3 separate regions of the Homo sapiens genome follow, and regions 1 and 3 are each linked to region 2. Evidence: promoter capture Hi-C in 16 types of primary human blood cells and fetal thymus (Javierre and others, 2016). All regions are on one chromosome and are shown on one strand. The core of a region is centred on a gene start or on the middle of the fragment in contact, and the rest is flanking DNA. Distances in the headings are between cores, read along the strand shown.

Region 1 (4,395 bases), core at 1,348-3,847, 530 kb after region 2:
AAAAGGAAAATCATGTATGTGGCCAGGCAAGGTAGCTCAATCCCAACATTCTGGGAGGCTGAGGCAGGAAGATCACTTGATGTTAGGAGTTTGAGACCAGCCTGAACATAGTGAAACCAATTCTCTACTAAAAATTAAAAAACAAAAAACAAAAACATATGGTTTACAGATATAGACGCTAAGACTTTGGGAATCATACCACACCTATTTGTACTTTGGAAAATTACAAATGATTCCCTTCCAACCATAGTAGTTTGAGATTCAAAAGATCACATAGACATGCTATTAAGGAAATGACCAGGGCCAGGTGCGGTTGCTCACGCCTATAATCCCAGCACTTTGGGAGATTGAGGTAGGCAGATTGCCCAAGCCCAGGAGTTCAAGACCATTCAGGGCAACATGGCAAAACCCTGTCTCAACAAAAAATGCAAAAATCAGCCCAGTGTGGTGGTGCACACCTGTAGTCCCAGCTACTCAGGAGGTTGAGGTGGGAGGATGGCTTGAGCCTGGGAGGGTGAGAAGTGAGCTATGATTGTGCCACTGCACTCCACCCTGGGTGACAAAGTGAGATCCTATTTCAAAATAAAGAATGAATCAATAAATAAGTAAATAAGACCAGCCTAGCCAAAATGGTGAAACCCCATCTCTACTAAAAATACAAAAATTAGCGCCGGGAGTGGTGGCTCAGCACTTTGGGAGGCTGAGGCAGGTGGATTACCTGAAGTCAGGAGTTCAAGACCAGCCTGGCCAATATAGCGAAACCCCATCTCTACTAAAAATACAAAAATTAGCCTGGCATGGTGGCGCATGCCTGTAATCCCAGCTACTAGGGAAGCTGAGGCAGGAGGATCACTTGAACCCAGAAGACAGAGGTTGCAGTGAGCCGAAGTCATGCCACTGCACTCCAGTCTGGGCAACAGAGCAAGACGCTACCTCAAAAAAAAAATACCTTCCAACAGTCCTTGTCCTACTTCACTTTTTACAGGTTTTCCTCCACATATCATATGAAATAAGAGAACAGTGAAATACTGTTGGTCTGGATACTTAATCTGATGTGCAGAAGGAACAGCCCTAAATCCTGAGATCCATTCTTTTATATAACTAGATATGGAAGATATAAGATTCTTTGATGAGACTTTATTTATTTATTTATTTATTTATTTATTTATTTTTGAGATGGAGTCTGGCTCTGTCACCCAGGCTTGAGTGCAGTGGTGCAATCTCAGCTCACTGCAACCAGTGACTCCTGGGTTGAAGGGATTCTCCTGCTTCAACCTCCTGAATAGCTGGGACTACAGGTGTGCACCACCATGCCTGGCTGATTTTTGTATTTTAGTAGAGACGGGGTTTCACCATGTTAGCCATGCTGGTCTCGAACTCCTGACCTCATGCAATCCGCCCACCTCGGGCTCCCAAAGTGTTGGGATTACAGGCGTGAGCCACCGCACCCAGCCACTTAATTTCTTTTAACAAAGACATGAGAATTATGAATACATGGATGAATCATTTCGCCCTTGTATCCTTCCTTTTTTTTTTCTCATCACTATACCAACGAGGACCTTCTATCATTCTTAAAATAAAAGAGAAAGAAACAGAAATCCCAGCGCAGTACTTCCCAAACGAAAGCGGTTAGGTGTCCATCTGTCAGGCTATATTAAACCAGGAAGAGAATTTTCATTTCAAAACAGTTTCTTCTATTGGCGCTTTCTCCTCGTGAAATATTTACAGGAAACATACATTTAAAATGGAATGAAAGCAGAAACATACAGTAATCCAAGCAAAACTCAACAACGTCCGTTCTTTATTTTGCACAAGACGGTCTGCATTACCCTTGCCATTAAAAAAAGACTGAAAATCTGGGGCTGAAGTAAAACACCCATGACATGCCACCTGGAGCTAGGAATGTAGCTTTGTGTCAGCAGGAGACCAAGTGTGAGTGGTGGTTCTGGCTTGCTAAGTGGATACCAGAGCTTTCGTTCCCATTTATGAGCTTCCTAGGTTCATAAAACGGACAGAACAAAGAAGTCTGTCCTATGTTTATTTTTCAGAGTAGTGTAACATATGTTTCTCAAGAATGGTCTGCATCTTTAGCATCAGAATCGCCAGAGAAATTTGTTTAAATAGAGATTAAAGGGATATAGGTCAGATCAAAATCTCTGGTAGTTGGGGACCCAGGAATCTTCATTTTAAAACGTAAACCAAGTGATTCTTACGCTCAACAAAGTGTGCAGGAATTGGCCCGTGATCTTGGCTTTTTAACCACACCATGCCTCAATTTCCCCCTTCTGCACAAGACAACAAGAGTTCCTGGATATCTTGCGAGTTAGTACTTTTCTGCCTAGCCGGATTCAGAGACATGGCCGCTAAGAGGTGACCCGGGGCTCCCCTGAGATCCCCTGATTCCTGGTGAATTGTAAATTCAATTTGAGAAGAGAGAGAGGAAGGGATTTCCGATACTTAGAGACCACCCTTTGGATCCTAGAGATAATGCCGGCACAACTGTGTATCAGATTTCAGGGCGCGTTCGGCTAATAATGTTGCCGGCCAGCCGCCGTCGTTCGTGGAGTGACGCAACAAGGCGTACTCTCTGGCCGTTGTCACTCGACTACCAAGATGGCGGCCCCCGGGAGCTGTGCTCTATGGAGCTATTGCGGCCGTGGGTGGTCGCGGGCGATGCGGGGCTGCCAGCTCCTCGGGCTTCGTAGCTCTTGGCCCGGGGACCTACTAAGTGCTCGGCTCTTGTCCCAAGAGAAGCGGGCAGCGGAAACGCACTTTGGGTTTGAGACTGTGTCGGAAGAGGAGAAGGGGGGCAAAGGTGAAAGGGGCGAGAGGGCGGATGGGAGGGATCTGACCGTCCATGGTCTGGTTTCTTCTGGCCAGTTAGGGTTGATTTAACATCCAATTAGTTCCAGTGTTGTTGTCTGTGCAGTTATGATTTTTTTTTTTTTTGGAGACAGAATTTCGCTCTTGTTGCCCACACTGGAGTGCAATGGTCCGATCTTGGCTCACTGCAACCTCCGCCTCCCGGGTTCAAGCGATTCTCCTGCCTCAGCTTCCCGAGTAGCTGGGATTACAGGCGCCCGCCAGCACGCCCGGCTAACTTTTTTGTATTCTTACTAGAGATGGGGTTTCACCAGGCTGGTCTCGAACTCCTGACCTCAGGTGATTCGCCTGCCTCGGCCTCCCAAAGTGCTGGGATTACAGGCGTGAGCCACCGCGCCCAGCCAGACGCCCCCTTTTTAAAAGCAGAATACTGATGACTAAATCCCATCAACTGAGCGTTTGTGATGTGCCAGGCAACGTACAGACATTATTTTCAATTCTCATTTTCAACATTCCAGTAGTGGGTATTGTTATTACCATATTACACGTGAGGAAATTGAGACTTAAAGGTTAAGCAAGAAGTTGCCCAGTTGAACATATCAGTAAGTGGCGGAACCAGTATTCAAACCCAGTTTAATCTGAGTCTGAAGCCCCCGTTCTTTACCTCTAGAGAAAAATAGGGGTTTTTTTGGTTGTTTTTATTTATTTATTTATTTATTTATTTATTTTGAGACGGAGTTTCGCTCTTGTTGCCCAGGCTGGAGTGCAATGGCGCAATATGGGCTCACTGCAACCTCAGCCTCCTAGGTTCAAGCGATCCTCCTGCCTCAGCCTCCTGAGTAGCTGGGATTACAGGCATCTGCCACTGTGCCCTGCTAATTTTTGTATTTTCAGTAGAGACGGGGTTTCTTTTTTTTTTTTTTTTTTTTTTTTTTTTTTTTTTGAGACTGAGTCTCTCTCTGTCACCCCCAGGCTGGAAGGCAGTGGCGCGATCTCGGCTCACTGCAAGCTCCGCCTCCTGGCTTCACGCCATTCTCCTGCCTCAGCCTCCCGAGTAGCTGGGACTACAGGGGCCCGCCACCATGCCCGGCTAATTTTTTGTATTTTTTTTTTAGTACAGACAGGGTTTCACCATGTTAGCCAGGATGGTCTGGATCTCCTGACCTCGTGATCCACCTGCCTCGGCCTCCCAAAGTGCTGGGATTACAGGCATGAGCCACCACACCGGCCAATGTATAATCAACATTTTACAATGTATAATCAATGTATAATCAACATTTCACACAGTGGCAAGCAAGGAAGAAGTTAACTACTGAACTAAATATGAATTCCAGATTGGGGACTGAGATTGCAGTACAGACAGTCCTCGCTGTGCACAGTAATGCAAGACTGTGAAAATGTGCAAGCTGAAGTCATACACAATGACCTTAATCAATGGGAAAAATTAGAATTGTTTTATGACCTTTAAAAATTATCAACCATCAAAAACCCTGTCAGTTATAAATGTATAGTGAAATGAAAAAATATATACTGAAGTTGATATTTATTTACAGCCAGGTGCGATGGTTCACA
Region 2 (4,578 bases), core at 1,044-3,543:
AGAAGCAAGCACCTCCAGGAAGGAGGTCCCGCACCACCATGCACAGAGTGTCTGCAATGCAGAACCAGAGAGGACCTTTGGGATGGTCCACTGTGGTTGAGCCACCATACTCAAAGATGGGGACCCTTGATAGATGCCTTGACGAAGCAAGCAGAAGGTCACCAGGAAGTTCTCTGTCCTCCACCATCTATCCGTTTTATGGACTAAAAAATAGTCACAAGATTGAAGTGCTTTTGCTTCCTAGGAAACATGGTGTCATTCATTCATTTATTCAGCCAACATTAACTGAGGCCCCATTGTGTGCCAAGAAATGTGCTAGACCCTGGGACCACGTGCTTCTCACGCTGAAGATTCCCAGTAGAGAAGACACATAACAAACTGCCCGTAGAATGGGGCTGCCTTATTCATTTATGTATTCTCCAAGCCTCGCCCAGTGCCCAGCACGTAGTAGGAGCTCAATAAATAATAAGTGCCTTGGGCAGTAAGATAATGTCGTGGGTAAACCTCTGGCATTTAGAATCAGAGAACCTGGGTTTGAATCACAGCTTGTCCACTTCTTTGGTGTGTGACTCTGGGCAGGCCACATCATCTTGCTGAGACTCGATTTCTTCATAATGTAACATGGTGTGAACCTGCATCACAGAGTCTTGTGGGGATTATGGGAACTAAACTGTGAAAAGAGGCTGGGTGTGGAGGCTCGCGACTCTAATCCCAGCACTTTGGGAGGTCAAGGCAGGCGGATCACTGGAGCCCAGGAGTTTGAGACCAGCCTGGGCAGCATAGCAAAACCCCATCTCTACAAAAAAAAAAAGTACAAAAATTAGCCAGGCTCAGTGATGCATACTTGTAGTCTCAGCTACTCAGGAGGCTGAGGTGGGAGAATCACTTGAGCCTGGGAGGTGAGGTTGCAGTGAGCCCAGATCATGCCACGCACTCCAGCCTGGGTGACAGAGCCAGATCCCATCTCAAAAAAAATAAAGAATAAAATAAACTGTGTAGAGAGCCTGGTATACACGAAGTGCTTGATAAGTATAGCTATTGGAGTTAATATCAATACCATAATGTCAAAGAGCCCTGGTAAACACTCTGGGCTCCTGTCTGCCTTCTGAAAAACAAGGATTAAGCAGATCCCCTCTGTCTCTTCTGTACTAGGATCCTAGGAACTACAAATGGTGATTGTTTTAGGTGGGTGTGGAGCATCATCTTGTGGAAGAGAGGAAAATTGACAAAAATGTCGCAGTTTCCTATTAAGAATATATATTGGAATTCACAGTTTTTAAAATATGAGTACATATACCAAAAATGCCCTAATGCAAGGTGATCCCCAAATCCAATCAATTTTTCCAATGGACTAATAACAAATATTTGCCAGGGAGAAAATAAAAATGTGTTTGAGAATCACATGGATCAATGGGGAAAAACATAAAAATAAATGAAAAATAAAAATATGTTGGCATAGCCCTAATTACATAAGCTTAAGGGAAATCAAATATGCACTTCCAATATTTCGTTAATTTATTTAGATACAGCTATACATTTGTATATGTTATGGGGTAATATACAAATATTACTCTTTTCCACTTTCAGTTTTCAAAAAGATTTTGTAACTCAAGCTCTTCACAGGCATCTCCCACTTAGTGGTTTTCCCTCTCCAAGGCAATTTTTGAATCTTCTAAGCCTGTGTTTCAGGGCTCAGTATTTTTTACTCTGTTAAGCAGAGTGAGAGACAGGCTGTCATGAATCTGGACATTTTTATTTTTAATTTTTTTTAGACAGGGTCTCATTCTGTTGCCCAGGCTGGAGTGCAGTGGTTTGATCACAGCTCACTGCAGCCTCGACTTCCCAGGCTCAGGTGATCCTCCCACTTCAGCCTCCCTAGTAGCTACGGGCACATGCCACATGCCCGGCTAATTTTTTTGTATATTTTGTAGAGATGGAGTTTTACTATGCTGCCCAGGCTGGAAATCTGGACATTCTTAACAAACCTCAGTGACATATTTATGCGTTGTTAGGGCATTTTTAAAATGCATCCTATAGGTGCATACTTATGGCCTCCACAGTATCAATGTGGGATTTACTTTCTTTCCTTTTTTTTTTTTTTTTTTTTTTTTTTTTTTTTTTTTGAGACAGTCTGGCTGGAGTGCAGTGATGCCATCTCGGCTCACTGCAACCTCCGCCTCTGGGGTCAAGTGATTTTCCTGCCTCAGCCTCCCAAGTAGCTGGGATTACAGGCGCCTGCCACCACGCCTGGCTAATTTTTTTGTATTTTTAGTAGAGACGAGGTTTCATCATGTTAGCCAGGCTGGTCTCAAACTCCTGGCCTCAAGCGATCCTCCCGCCTCGGCCTCCCAAAGTGCTGGATTACAGGCGAGAGCCACCGCGCCTGGTCGCTAGTTGAGATCTTTAAAAGCCAATGTGTCTACCACAAACTGTCAGTTTGCTCTTCAAAATGAAGTTCTTGAGAGAACAGCGCCCCCTAAAGACAATTTTTTAAAAGATTACCTCCTTCCTGTGGATTATTGGTGAGGGGATAGGGGAGACCTAAATATACGCAACAAAACAAGTAGTAAAGGGGTGAGTATGTCTTTGCTTTTAGAAAATAAAGAGTCAATCCCAGGCCCCAGGACTCCCGGGGCTCAGCCCAAGCCCCCATCCCCTCACCCCAAGGAGCCAGCACCTTCTGATTCCGGGGCAGACACTACTGAGTTCCCGTAGGGAGACAAGGTCTGCTCCTGCAGCAGGAAATAGGGGATGGAGAGGTGGGGGCAGCCCAGCTCCAGGACACCCTGGGAAACTCCCAGCCTGAGAACCTTCCTCTCAAGGAAGCCCAAGGGGCACTTGGCTCCATCTCCAGCCTTTTTTCCTGGCAACCTCAAATGGAAAGAGAAAATTCCTCTTTCAAAGCTCAGCAAATTTTCTGTTTCCAATTAAAACAAAACAAAACAAAACAAAAAAACCCAAACAAACAAAACAAAGTTCAGTTTCAGTTTCCATTCTCAGCCGGCAGGAGAGATGGCTGCTGAACTAAGGCAGCCCAGCAGAGGGAGGCTCAGCTGATGCCTGGAGGGCCCCCTAGCCCTCTCTGCACCCTAAAAAGAGGAAAGTAAGCTTAGTGATTCTTCCGTCGGTGGCTCACGCCTGTAATCCCAGCACTTTGGGAGCCCAAGGCGGGCAGATCACCTGAGGTCAGGAGTTTGAGACCAGCCTGGCCAACATGGTGAAACCCCGTTTCTACTAAAAATACCAAAAATACCAAAAATTAGCCGGGCGTGGTGTCAGGTGCCTGTAATCCCAGCTACACAGGAGGCTGAGGTGGGAGAATCCCTTGAACCCGGGAGGCAGAGGTTGCGGTGAGCTGAGATCACGCCATGGGTGACAGAGCAAGACTCTGTATCAAAAAAAAAAAAAAAAAGAAAGAAAAAGGGCAGCTAACTCTCTCTCTAACCCACACCATCTCCCTGCCCTTCTGCAGTTCTGTGGCCTACTGGACAAAGGCTGGGAGTTGCCCCTTACAGGGCTGGGCAGAAGCAGAGACGATTCATTCCTGGTCCCACAGAGATGGCAGGCTTCCAGGACCTGTATGACACCCCTGGGGACAGGCTGGATGTCTTCATAAAACATCCTTCCAGTCTGCCTTCGTAAAACAGCCTCCAGCCCCAGGGAGACTGGAAGGATGAAGTGAAGGATGCCGGGCATTGAACTGAGCAGTTCTTGAGGGATCAGTTCTTCTATAATGAGCTGATTCTGGACCAGGAAGTCAGGGTGCTGAAGATGGCAAAGGTGAGCACTCAGGAACCCCCGGGGTTCAAATCCCAGCTCTGCCCTGTGGGACTGTGGGGCTGTGGGATAGGTAAGGGATGAGTTATTTTGTCTCTCTGAGCATCGGTCTCTTCCTCTCTAAAACCGGTTTCTAATGAACAATAAATGGGATAAAGCATAGAAAAGTGCTCTTAAGCAGTAAACTATTCTACAAATCTGGATGATGATGATGATGATGATGATGATGATGATGATGATTTGGGATCCAGCTCTCTAAGTGCCAGGGAATCAAGTGGACTATGGGTAGCAGGTTTGTATAAAATTTATGCCTTTTGGCCAGGCACAGTGGCTCACACCTGTAATCCCAGCACTTTGGGACGCTGAGTGGGGAGGATCACTTGAACCCAGGAGTTCAAGGCCAGCCTGGGCAACATTGCAAGACCTCATCTCAATTATTTAAAATTTTAAACTTTTTTATATATTATTTAAAAAAAATTTTTAAAGAAATTAAAATAAAATTTATGCCTTTTGTTTCCTCTTTAACCAGCCCCACTTAACCCCTAAAGTCATCAAGATCATCTATATTTTCCTTCTAAAATGGCACTGACTGGCCGGGCGCGGTGGCTCACGCCTGTAATCTCGGTACTTTGGGAGGCCAAGGCAGGCGGAACACGAGGTCAGGAGATCGAGACCATCCTGGCTAACATGGTGAAACCCCGTCTCTACTATAAAAATACAAAAAAAAACTTAGTCAGGTGTGGTGGCAGGCGCCTGTAATCCCAGCTACTCGGGAGGCTGAGGCAGGAGAATGGTGTGAAC
Region 3 (4,330 bases), core at 1,463-3,962, 560 kb after region 2:
CTTCAAGTACTACTACATACACATCCATCACCACAACCTGAGGCCAAAGGCCCAGAACATTCTATAGCAATGTCTTAACAAATATCCTTAAACATTGATTTTTTTCAGATTAGGACTAAAGATTTAATTTAAATGTTTCTTTATCATGCACTGCATTTCTCAACATGCACAACAGTTGCAGGATGGGTGAGAGAATGTGACTAAAGAGTACTGAAATACCCCACAGAAACTTAACTTCTGTAAGGATGGACTCATCCCCACCAACCTGGGCATCTGATCAAGTGACCGTCTTCAACGCTGTTATTTGAACAAATTGTAATTCACACACATACACATCTGCATCAGATTTATTTTTTAAAGGAATGGATTTTGAGAGAAAACAACGTGGGCAGAAGTATGGAATAGAAAATAAATACAAATGTAGGCTATTCTGCTAATTGTTTTATAACCACGACAAACTAGTACAGAGAATGCCCTGTACAAAACACAACAAAGGTTCAAACATCGAGATGTTCCCTTAGCAAGGCTGAAAATTTCAGTCTCTGGTATTTGGAATTTAGGCTGCAGTCCTTGTTTTTGGATGGATCACTGGGTGTGTGGCACAGTCCATGCTTTTAACCAGATTTGAACAGAAGAATGGCCACTTGGCCCAGGTAGAAGTAGATGAAGTGTTTGGTTTCATGTGTCACATAACTACCGAAGTTCCTCCCCACGATGCAATGCCAGGTGGGATTGTACTTCTTGTCAAATTCCTGGAAAAGACAAAAGAAAAGAACTAGGATTTTAATTACCAGAGGTCAGTGTTTGCCTCTTGGATAAGCCAGAGCCTGTAGGGGCAGAAAGGAGGAACGTCAGCATCTGCAAATTCTTAGAATGAAAGAATGTTCCCCAGCTCCAAGCCGCCTACATAGTACATTAATACAAACATACTTGCAGTCTGAGCGAAGATGGGAATGGAGGCTGAGGAGGTCAAAGGACGAAAGGTCAGCCCTAAAGACAGGGTGTTTTGTTATTATGGTAATTACACCTTCATACCTTCTATAATATTCATTGACAGACGGTGACATCAACAGGTGTAGTTTATCATGTTCTGTGTAGAGAACTAAACTACCCTACTGTATTTGCCATGCCCCCAATTCCAAGAAAACGGCAAAAAATTAGCCCATCCCATTCCTCATCACAAAGATCTTAACTGCACCCCTGCAACACAAGACTTTTCCAATAGGACAAAACTTCAAACAGCATTGTATACCAAATGATTGCGGATCAAAATTAAATTTACAGGAACACAATACTGAAGCACTCCACTGTTGCTGTAAAAACTGCTGGAAACAGAATCTGTCAACTGGCCAAATTTTATCCTTAATTATTATCCAAACAGCCGTCCTCTTCACATCTATCCGGATGATGCTAATCTACTACCCTGTCCACTAGGTTAGCAAGTTGTAGGAACAACTCTTCACCATTTCTCCCACCCTAAGAGGTACTGGGGAGTAGAATGCCTGTGGGGGGCATTGGGTGGCAACGGTTATCTTTCTCTGCAAAATTCTTACAAGTGTTTGTGGAGCGTCACACAAGATTTAGCTACTCTAACTGCACGCAGTGCGAAAACCTTTTAAAGCTATGAAGGGGAGTAACGCTCTTGCAAGCTAGAGGCACGCACTGCTGCGTTTGTCAAAAAAGGCATTTATTTCTGTTCCATCTGAAGTCTTTCATCTTCCCATTCTCGACTGGAACCCTCCCACGGCTTAGGCTGCCAGCTTTCTTCCCTTCCAGCAAACACTGCTCGAGAAGTTGGCAGTCCTGCCGGCTTTCTAGACTGCCATTTACCAAGCCCCTACCCCAGCCCCCAGCCCCGCCACCACCCACCACCTTCCCTCAACTCCCCACTGGAAGGCTGGCAAGATCTCCTCCCGGCCCGGCTGGAAACACCCACGCAGCTCCCCCCTCCGGAACACCCAGATGGATCCTCGGCGCAGGAACCACACAGAAGGGGGAACCGCTGCTCCCTGATCTTAGATACCGTTGCTAGGTGGCGCTTTCCCCCCGCGGAGCTGGGTAATTAAAAAAAAAAAAAAAAAAACTTCGGACGCCGGGGGTCTGGTCTTCTCCACAGGAGCGCAAAATGCATCTGCGTCCTTTCTGGAAGCTTCTACGCCCCAAGCCGCCAGCAGTATTCCCGGGACCTGTCAGGCGCCCTTAGGAAAGCAGGATCGGGGGGAAGGAACCCCCTGCTCCCGGCTGCGTATCGGCCCCCGCGCCCATCCTCACCTTCTTGATATGAGCCGCAATGTCCTTCTCTATGTTGTATTTCTCCAGCGCCTGAGTAGCGCACTCCACCGAGTCCTGTTGCATCTCTTCCGACATGTCCGCATTTTTGATCACGGCCTTTCGGTCGCACATGGTTACCTAGTGGGCAAGGCCTGGGGTAAGGGGTTGAGTTGGGCCGCGCCCCCCAGGCACTAACTGCCCCCACCCCGGCCGGCGCCACCACGGGACGACGCCCCCCACCCCACTTCTCAGGAAGCGCGGGCTACGCGGAGGGCTAAGTCCGGAGTGGGGCGAAATAAGGCAGCGAGGACACCCCCTGGCCCCCCGAGTTTCTCACCGTGGAGAAGGGGGCTGGCCGACTGCAACGGTCTCCTGGGGGAGGTGCTAGCACAGCTCAGGCCCGGCTAGAGATACCGTCGCTACCGAAACCGTGGCGCATCTAAGCAGCCCCACGCCAGCCGCCGCCGCCTAGTGCTCAGGCCCCGCCCTGCTCCCGCCGGCCCCGCCCCTCGCCGCGCGACCCTATTGGCTTGACGCAGCCCACGGCATTCTTCCATTGGTCCATTGACTCCATGGTTCCCTCAGGATCTTTCTCCTGCATTTTGTTGCAGACCACAATGCACCGCTCACGGCGTCGGTTGCCCGGGCAATGGGCCGCACGCTACGAGGCCCACACACCCAGAAGGTGGAGCCCCGGCCGGGTTACGAGGACCACCCAGCTGTCTGGAGAGGTAGGAAGGGAGCTTCTGCCGGGGCCAAGGGAAGTGATTCCAAATTCACGGAGGTTGTCCCAGGGTGTGTTCTCGAACAACAGTCTCTAGAAGTTGGTGGCCATTCCTGCCCCCACCCCCCCGCCCCCCCACCACGACAGGTCGCATGATCTCGCACCCCAGGTTAGCAGGATTACGACAGAGGTGGCCTCTCCCTTTACTGAAAGGGTATCTCTGAAGCAGGGCCGGCTTCGTGGGTAAACCAGCAGTGCAGTCTCACAGGAGGGACCCTTACGTTTTCATTTTGCACTGGGCCCCATTTGTAGTCGGTTCTGCTCTGAAATATTTAGGGGAGGGCATCCTCAGGATTGAGGGAGGGCTTCAAGGAGGGAGGGTGTTTCCTTACGAATTAAGGGATTATCCCCAAGAGTGGGGTCTCTGCCAAGCAATGCGGACATCCTTTAAGGGGTTGGGGATGGGGATCCGGGTGGATTTGGGAGTGTTGAGCCCCGGGGTTTTTGTCCAGGGTGAAGCTTCTTGCTCAGGTGAGGCAGTCTTTCCTGTGTGGGAGAGATTCTTGGTTGGGATTTATCTCTGAGGAGGAGGTATTCTAATGGACGAAAAAGCGGCCGTTAGAGAGATGACGTCCCCTCTGGCTTAGGGAGGAGACACGAAGTGGTTAAAAAAGCAAGATCTTGGGGGAGTTGAGGGACAAGTCAGATCTGGATTTAAATCCCAGCACTGTCATTTACTAGCTATTTGAATGTCTTCTTTAAGTAAAGGAGGACTAAATGTAAAAGGAAACCAGTTCATACGCTTGTTAGCAGTATTAAACATTTGAAGTTCTCTCAGCACAATGTGAGGCACATAGTAAATGATCAATGAATCTTATCAATAATTGTCAGTTTATACAACTATCCCAAAGGCCACAGCAAGGTTTTGAACAACCAGCTCTGAAATGCCTATAATGTATTTTTCGAACCTCCATAAATAAGTTATCAGGTTAATCATGTATCTGGAAGCTTCCTATTTACATTTCTACATTTTCCTCTGACCATCTACTCTCATTACTCCTTAAAACAATTTGTGGCTGGGCATGATGGCTCACACCTGTAATCCCAGCACTTTGAGAAGCCGAGTCAAGGGGATCGCTTGAGCTCAGTAGTTGGAGACCAGCCTGGGCAATATGGCCAAACCCCATCTCAAAAAATAAAAATAAAACAATTTGAGCAGAGGCACACAACTCCAGAAAGAAAAAGATGGGAATAGGCCGGGTGCGGTGGCTCATGCCTATAATCCCAGCACTTTGGGAGGCCGAGGCGGGTGGATGACCTGAGGTAAGGAGTTTG

Evidence for each region. Contacts are between HindIII fragments. The CHiCAGO score rates a contact against its expected background, and 5 or more counts as called.
Region 1: the fragment with the promoter of COQ5 here is called in contact with a fragment that was not itself captured in region 2 in 2 of 17 cell types (fetal thymus and total B cells); the score reaches 5.9 in fetal thymus.
Region 3: a contact is called between the fragment with the promoter of DYNLL1 here and a fragment that was not itself captured in region 2, in 3 of 17 cell types (total B cells, fetal thymus and naive B cells). The highest score is 7.3, in total B cells.

The regions. Positions count from the first base shown.
Region 1 is chr12:120,527,360-120,531,754 of GRCh38, reverse strand. COQ5 (coenzyme Q5, methyltransferase) reads left to right here and starts at 2,597. Exons shown (of 7, transcript NM_032314.4): 1 at 2,597-2,815. The coding sequence starts at 2,614. RefSeq lists enhancers at 2,261-2,720, 2,067-2,836, 2,837-3,607. The HindIII fragment of the contact is 14,447 bases long and covers 1-4,395 here.
Region 2 is chr12:121,058,651-121,063,228 of GRCh38, reverse strand. LOC105378258 (a long non-coding RNA gene) reads left to right here. Exons shown (of 4, transcript XR_007063492.1): 4 at 3,473-3,939. It also overlaps the pseudogene OASL2P. Among named protein-coding and RNA genes, the nearest start is that of OASL, 22 kb to the right of the region's middle. RefSeq lists enhancers at 2,648-2,827, 2,848-3,017, 3,138-3,227. The HindIII fragment of the contact is 1,634 bases long and covers 1,477-3,110 here.
Region 3 is chr12:120,494,495-120,498,824 of GRCh38, reverse strand. DYNLL1 (dynein light chain LC8-type 1) reads right to left here and starts at 2,712. Exons shown (of 3, transcript NM_003746.3): 1 at 2,609-2,712; 2 at 2,272-2,409; 3 at 332-752. The coding sequence starts at 2,403. The coding sequence ends at 615. It overlaps NRAV (negative regulator of antiviral response), which reads left to right and starts at 2,879. Exons shown (of 2, transcript NR_038854.1): 1 at 2,879-3,002. RefSeq lists silencers at 2,309-2,828, 3,119-3,168 and an enhancer at 2,388-3,054. The HindIII fragment of the contact is 1,365 bases long and covers 2,152-3,516 here.